Regions from separate parts of the Homo sapiens genome. Here region 2 is linked to region 1. Evidence: promoter capture Hi-C in 16 types of primary human blood cells and fetal thymus (Javierre and others, 2016). All regions are on one chromosome and are shown on one strand. Each heading gives the region's core, a stretch centred on a gene start or on the middle of the fragment in contact. The rest is flanking DNA. Distances are from core to core; before and after follow the strand shown.

Evidence for each region. Contacts are between HindIII fragments. The CHiCAGO score rates a contact against its expected background, and 5 or more counts as called.
Region 2: a contact is called between a fragment that was not itself captured here and the fragment with the promoter of BMPR1A in region 1, in 1 of 17 cell types (naive CD8 T cells). The highest score is 5.5, in naive CD8 T cells.

Annotation. Positions count from the first base shown.
Region 1 is chr10:86,755,001-86,758,875 of GRCh38, forward strand. BMPR1A (bone morphogenetic protein receptor type 1A) reads left to right here and starts at 1,619. Exons shown (of 13, transcript NM_004329.3): 1 at 1,619-1,919. RefSeq lists a silencer at 1,132-2,101. The HindIII fragment of the contact is 8,878 bases long and covers 1-3,602 here.
Region 2 is chr10:84,357,489-84,361,363 of GRCh38, forward strand. The region is part of intron 1 of CCSER2 (coiled-coil serine rich protein 2); the gene reads left to right. Among named protein-coding and RNA genes, the nearest start is that of CCSER2, 31 kb to the left of the region's middle. The HindIII fragment of the contact is 1,576 bases long and covers 1,447-3,022 here.

The sequences.
Region 1 (3,875 bases), core at 369-2,868:
AACAAAAAAACTAAAACTGGGTATTATGAAGGAAACTTGAGAAAGAAAAGTGACCAATTTTAGTTGATGCAAGTAATCTCACGTATCCTCTTCTTCCTGCATAGCAAGATACTACAACCCATGACTGTCAAACCTGAGACAGCTGAAGAGCCCAGAAAAAAAGATTAGGGAAGAAAACAGAATTGAAAAATAATTCAGAATGACAGAGGCTATCTGCAGCATTAAGGGCAAAGGCGGGTAAAAGAAGAAAAGGGAGACAGAATAAAAGATAAACCAAAAAATTGAAACAAAATACACGGGAATTCAAACATTTATACCAGAATATAAGGGAATACCCTGGAATCTAAACACCTCTTCAGGCAAGAATGTGTGTCAATACAAATGCCTGGCACATTGTTTTCCTTCCCCCTTTCTTTTTACCCAGTTTACCCAGTTTTAAAAGTGATTTTTTAAAATGCACCTTTAAAAGAACATCTTTTGTTAAGTGACTTAAACTTGATACATTTCTTGGATTACTAAGGAGGTTAAAGTCACATTTGGTGAAAAAGGGGCCTATCTCCTCTTTCCTCACATACGGGTCATCGAATACTTTTAAAAGCATTTTCCACCATGAATGAGGGGAAATGGAAGAAAAGAGGTGGTGACAATTATTTGCATTTTCCAAATGGACGGAATGAGCCTCCGGAGGGTACACGAGGTCACCAGCGTGAGCCCGCGGTGGAGCTGGAGGCGTATTTATAGCTGGCTGACCTCAGTCCTGTTGGGCCCTCGCCGCTCCTTATCTTATGCCGCTGGAATTCGCGGGCTCGCAGGTCACAGGAGCCCGGGCGCGCCGGGCCTGGCGCTCCCGAATCGATGAGGGAAGCCGCTCTCCCCGGCAGATCCTCCCGGCCGGGGAGCCTCCATCACCCTGCCTGCGCCTCGGCACGCTGGCAAGGAGCCCGGGAAGAGACGCCGGGAGCGGTGGGTGGGCGAGAAACAAATGCAATGTGACTTATATTTTTCTTTGTCGCAACTACCACGACCTGGCCATCCCCCACCTTGGTGACTTGGTGCCTTCCCAGCGACCTTATTTCACGCCAGCTGACTGGCGTTCACCGCAGTGTGAGTGTCGGCCGGAGGAGGGGTCCACGCGAAAGAGCCCGCGAGAGTGGGGATATCCGGCCCCGAAGGCCGGAGCGGGCGTCCAGGGCGCCGATGGCCGCAGCGCCCGGCAGCCGTGTCCACGCTCCCCTCCGCCGCGTTCCATCGCGTGCTACCTACGGCGTCTGCGGGAAGCTACCCGGGCGGCAGCTGTGGGGCTGGCTTGTGGGGAGGGGCCGGCGGGCCCGCGCGGAGGAGCAGCCCCGACTCCCGCCCGCACCAGCAGCTCGGCGCCCCCTTGCCGGCGGCTGGCCCTCCTCCCCGGCAACTGGGCGCCGGGCTCCGCGAACTCTTCGGGCGCTTCCGCCGTGCGCTCGGCTCTTTTCGTGTCCGGGGCGGGGCGGGGCAGGCGCCCGTGGTCGGGTGCGCGCGGCGCGGGCGGGGGCCTTCCCAGTGCGCGCGCGCCGTGCAAGGCCCGCGGACGCCCGCCCCTCCCCCAGGCCCCCGCACCCGCGCCGCCCCCTCCCCTCCTGGCAAGAGTCGGCGGCGGTGGCGGCGGCCGCTGCAGAGATTGGAATCCGCCTGCCGGGCTTGGCGAAGGAGAAGGGAGGAGGCAGGAGCGAGGAGGGAGGAGGGCCAAGGGCGGGCAGGAAGGCTTAGGCTCGGCGCGTCCGTCCGCGCGCGGCGAAGATCGCACGGCCCGATCGAGGGGCGACCGGGTCGGGGCCGCTGCACGCCAAGGGCGAAGGCCGATTCGGGCCCCACTTCGCCCCGGCGGCTCGCCGCGCCCACCCGCTCCGCGCCGAGGGCTGGAGGATGCGTTCCCTGGGGTCCGGGTGAGTTGGGAGTGCGCGTGCGGACCGGAGGGGCTGGCCGCAGCGGGGAGGCCAGAGGGGCTCGGGCGAGGCTGCAGAGGCAGCTGGGCGCGCGGTGGCCGGAGCCAGGGGCTGCCCGGCCCGGCCCCGGCAGCTCCGCAGGCCTCGGCGCGCGCTGGGCCGGGACCGCCCAGCCAGAGACCCACGGCACCCCGCGCCGCGTCCCCCGCCGGCCCCTCTTTTGTCTCCCACTCGCGGGTTGCAGGCCGAGTTTGGGGATGCGGAGTGGGCGAAAGTCGCTCCGGGGACGCTTCTGGAATCCTTAAATGGGAAAGGCGCTCACCTCCCCGCCCCGGAGCGGCGAGGCTGATATTTGTGATTTGGCTCCGGACGCTGTGGGGAGGAACAGGGGAGAACAAAATGAGTTTCGGGCGGGGGTCGAGTGAGAGGAGCAGCCGGCCCGCCCCCGAGTCCCCGCGGGAAGGGGCCCTGGCCCCCGAGCTCCCGGAGCTGCTTCACCTGTTGTCCTGCGCGGCCTCCGCTCCGTGGCCTGGTGATTCCGTACTTCAGTTTTGGAAAACTTTCTGCTGGATTGCCTGGACCCTTTTTTCTCTTTCCAGACTCCTAGTGGAAAGATTTGGCAAGGAAAAAAAAATGAGCTTGCGTCAGGGAAGAAAAATAATATGCTGTGTGTTAGGGTCTGGCGTTTGAGCGTGGTACTCTTTCATGCTCTCAGATGTTTTAATTTGGTCAAACTCCTGCAGGTTTTCTCTTTTAAGCGGTTAACAAACTGTTCAGAGTACATAGTATGAACTTGGCACCTGTGTTACGTCATTTAATCCTTACAACGATTCTGGTTTATTGTATTCCTCATTGTTTTAGGGGAAGAAACCGAGTCGCAAAGAGGTTAACTAACTTGTCTAAGGGAGCTGGGATTTGAACCCAGGAACATCGTATTCTGGCAAACGAATTAGGAAGAAAAAAAACCAAAACTGTTTGCAAACACTTTTACGTTTAGGAACATTTTTCAGTTACTCTTACTTGAAATTATCGCTATTTTGTTGCTGGAGTTGAAAACAACTACTTTATTGTATTTACTTGTGAGAGGAGTTAAACTTTGAATTAGAGTGTAACTTAATGCGTCTCATTGTTTTCAGTTGTTGAAATAAAGAATGTGAACCAGAATTATTTAGATTTTTAAATTTGAAGCTAAAATATGGGCAATTCTCTGATCTAGGAATGGGGTGAGTGTATGAAAGGCCGATTGAAATGTAGAATGCGTTTTTAGTAGAACCAGACTCAGTTCTTGTTTAATTTTTCCTCCATTTTCCGTGGAGCCCACTTTAAACTTTTTCTACTTTCTTCACTTCTCCCCACCCTTTACAGAAGAGGTTGAGGCACTTAGCAGGAGCTCCTTCATTAAATTCCTTCTGTTACTGGCTTCTTAACCTTCCGTCAAAGAGGGAGAATTTTTTTTTTTTTTTTTGTCTTTCTTATTAGTTAACACCTTGGGGTTTTTTTCCTTTCCTTCTAATTTTCCTGCTTAGTGGAGCGTGAGTTATTTTCTCTGTCGTATTTGGGTTCTTTAAAGTACAAATGTTCTTAAGATTTTTTCAGTTTACAAAAACCTTTTCTTAAGTCTGCTACTCCTTCAAGCTGTCTTGTTGCTGCTTTTCCTTTTCAAATCTTATTAACATTTTAAAAAGCTTGTTCGTAATAAAAGTAACACATGGTTGTTAATTGCGAACTAGCGCAACATTGAAATTAAAATTTAGTCATTCACAATCCATCTCTAGAGATTGCCAAGTGTAGTCTGCTTTTCCTGCCTTTGCCTGGTTGGTGGCTAGCCACTCATTTCTTAACCCCTTGTTATCTGGATTTCACCTTCACAAGGAACTATAACCTAATCAACACATTTAACTACCTTTTTCTAAGTCCTCTCCTTGAGTTTTCTGTAAGATTTAACATCGACTTCAC
Region 2 (3,875 bases), core at 985-3,484, 2.4 Mb before region 1:
ACCCTGGCTGGAATGAAGTGGTGTGATCTCGGCTCACTGCAAGCTCTGCCTCCCGGGCTCACGCCATTCTCCAGCCTCAGCCTCCCGAGTAGCTGGGACTACAGGTGCCTGCCACCTCGCCCGGCTAATTTTTTTGTGTTTTTAGTAGAGACGGGGTTTCACCGTGTTAGCCAGGATGGTCTTGATCTCCTGACCTCGTGATTCGCCCGCCTCAGACTCCCAAAGTGTTGGGATTACAGGCGTGAGCCACCGCGCTCGGCCATATTTTTGTGTTTTTAAATGTCTAGTCTTTGCTGGGCCATTAGCTCTAGGAGTGCAAGGTTCATATCTGTCTGTGACAACTGTATCCACAATAACTTGTGCAGTTGCTGGCACATAATGGATGTTCAGTAAATACTTAGTAGACAAATAATGCTTCTATGGGTGACATAATGGTGTTATGGAAAGCATATAGTAGTTCTGTTGAAGAAGAGAATGTGGTTTAATGCATGATTTTAAGTATGATTTTCCTTTCCCATTAGGTGGAATTTAGCCATCTAGACAGTAAAGAACACACATGCCTCTTGAGTTGCTCACCTCTGTTTTCCCCTGCCTACAGTGGTTTGGAAGACATAGATAACTATGAAATAGGACATTTTGGGTGAGGTTAGGGTCTAAAGTTAGCATGGAGTTTAAAAATCTTGTATAGTTGCCGTTGAGAAGCCAGATGGTGACTTAAGTTTAACCTGGTTATCTTTTCTTGCAGCTTTGGTTGAGTACCAAAGAGTTGGTCAGTTCAGAGAGTTGGCTTCTGCAAAAAATACCCATTTTCAGATAGTAGTATATCACTGTTGGTAATTTGTTCATACTGTGCCAAGCATGTATAAACTGAGACTTACTGAGAGAGGAGGAGATTCATGTCTTTTCCTATATGTTCACTTTGTAAGTATATTTTTATAGAGTGGAATGATGGGTGGAATCACCTATACCATTAATGTTCCTCTAGCTCTGGAAAGTAATTTTACTTTGTCTAAATTCAAATATATATGTGTTGGGAGGCTGAGATGGGAAGATCACCTGAGCTCAGGAGTTGAGGCTGCAGTGAGCTGTGATAGCACCACTGCATGCTGGCTTGGGTGACAGTGAGACCCTATCTAAATATATATATATGTATATATGTGTATATATATATACATATACATATATGTATATATATATACACACACACACGTGTATATATATATTTATTAATTATACACAGACACGTAATGTGATTGCCTCAACTATTCCCTCCTCCACCATCTCCACTCTTTTCAGGTACAGAAGTTCATTTATTTACAAACAGTTTTAAGTTCTGAAAGGCTGTTCATAAATTCTTTTTGTAAATAATCGCTAACATTTTCCTTTGGTGTCAGGCATTGCTGAGAAACTTTCATTTTGATTGGTTGCCTTGTTCATATGTACAGAAGCTTATGAGTTGAAAGTAGAGGAGTTTCTGTATGTGGGACCTGTGAACCTAGGCATTTACTGTCTCCTGGTCCTAGGACCCTGCTTTGCTTAGTGAAGTTTGCTCTTCAGAAAGATTCCTGTAACCTTCTCCCACTGGAAATGACTCAAGACCAGGAATATCTAATTTTCAGGACATACACTTTTTTGTCCCAACTTTTTTTTTTCTTTTTAAAAAGTGCTTTATGTCCAAAGGATTACTTAATTCCCCTAGGATGAGTTAATTCAGGCATTACTGTATCAATAGTATTTTATACAGTTGTGGAATTGGGAGGGGACTTCATTTATCTCCCCCTGGTGCACCTGCAACTCTGAAGGGTCCATTGTATCTGGGGGAAACAGAATGGAATGTAAAAAATGTTTAGTTGATTTATGTGAGGGTCAGGTCAAGAACAGGTTAAACTAATTACGATAATAGGGGTTAAAATAGAGCAGTGGTTCCACAGTGTTTGTGTGTATCAGAATCACCTGGAAGGCTTTATTAAAACAAGATCTCTGGGCTCTACAGAATTGCTGAGCACTATATCTAAGGTAAGGCCTTAGAAAATCTATTTTTAACAAGTTTCTAGGTGTTATTGATGCTACTGCTGATCAGCCTTGGTCAGGGTAGTTAGAAGTTTATGATTTTGCTAATTCAAGAGTCCTTTGTCTTTTGTAGGAGGAGTTAAATGTAGAGATCCAGGGTTTGGGAGTTCTCTGAATAGGGGTATATAAGTGCTCCTGAGAGAGAATGAAAATGAATGCTAAGAGAAGGAGGATAATGTGGAATGTGCTGAAATTTATTTCCTATCTCTTTCCCTGATGAAAGCATCCTTATTTGGGGTTTACTTTTTTATTTTTATTTTATTTTTTTTTTCTGAGACAGAGTCTCACTCTGTTGTCCAGGCTGGAGTGCAGTCGTGCAATGTCAGCTCACTGCAACTTCCACCTCCCGAGTTCAAGTGATTCTCCTATCTCAGCCTCCCAAGTAGCTGGGATTATAGGCACCTGCCACCACACCCAGCTGATTTTTGTATTTTTAGTAGAGATGGGGTTTCACCATCTTGGCCAGGCTGGTCTGGAACTCCTGACCTCAGGTGATCACCTGTCTCAACCACCTAAAGTGCTGGGATGACAGGTGTGAGCCACTGTGCCTGGCTGGGGTTTACTTTTTTAAATGGAAGTTTTATATGGATGTTTTCAAACATCATGTGTAGAGAAAACAGCATAATTAATCCCTGGTGTTATTTACCACTTACCTTTTAATAGTTTCAGTTTTAACTGTCACACTCCCTTTTTTGAGGGGTGTTTTGATATTTAATGGAGTGTTTCAGATTTTCTTACTTTGTGATTCTATCTTTTTTTCTGTATTTATCAGTTGTGGTTCTTCTATAAAGAAGATTTTCCATCAATTTTTTGGTTACTTTGAAATACAAGAAGAGCAGGATACATGCTTATTTCTTTTATCAATTTGTAGAATAAGTTGTCTTTGCAGTAAGGCTTATTTTTACTATTTATAGGAGTAGAAGCAGTTTGAGGCTTTTAATTTTTTAAGAGAAGCTTTAAAAAATGAAGTATAACTTACATACAATAAAATACATAAATCTTAAATGATGTACTCTTGGTGAATTTTACACCATCCAGATCAAGTTGCCAATGTCTCAGTCAACCCCTTTTCAGTTAGCCCGCTCTTGCAGAGTTAGTCTCTGTCCCAGGGATTTCCAACGTATGAATTCCAGATCGGCAGAATCAACATCACCTGGAAACTTGTTAAAAATACTTTTTCCTAAGGCCTTACCTTTGATATGTTGGTTCAGAAACTCTGGGAGTGGAGTCCAGAGATCTTGTTTTAATGAAGTCTTCCGGGTGATTCTGATACACACAAGCACTGTGGAACCACTGCTGTATTCTAACACATATTATCATAATTACTTTAATCAGTTCTTGACCTTACTCTCACATAAATGGATCAACTGAACATTTCTCCCATTCCATTCTGTTTCCTCCACATGCACTGGATTTTTTTCCTGTGCCCCTGGGTGAGAAGTCTTGCTGCTGCTTCCCCAGCAGTTTAAGGCTTTTGCTTCAGAGGACAGAAGGAGGCAGGGAAGTGAGAGGGTTTGTGTTTGTTCCAGTGCAGGCTTTCATCACCTCCTGCATGCCTGTGCCGTTAAGAGGGGGCTTTCTTATATGTTTCTCTTGAATGCTAGGTTGAGGCCCATGAGGAAGAGCTTGCTGTTGTGCTAGTCCACATTTGGCTTTTAAGCAGACATTAAAATGTTAGCTTATTACTCCTTTTTATGGTGGTCATTTCTGTCTTTTATGCTCAGCCAAAAGTGAAACTGTTAAATGTCCCGTCTCTCCTGGGAGGGGCTTGTCTCCCTTTGGAATTTGGTTGACTTGCTTGCCTT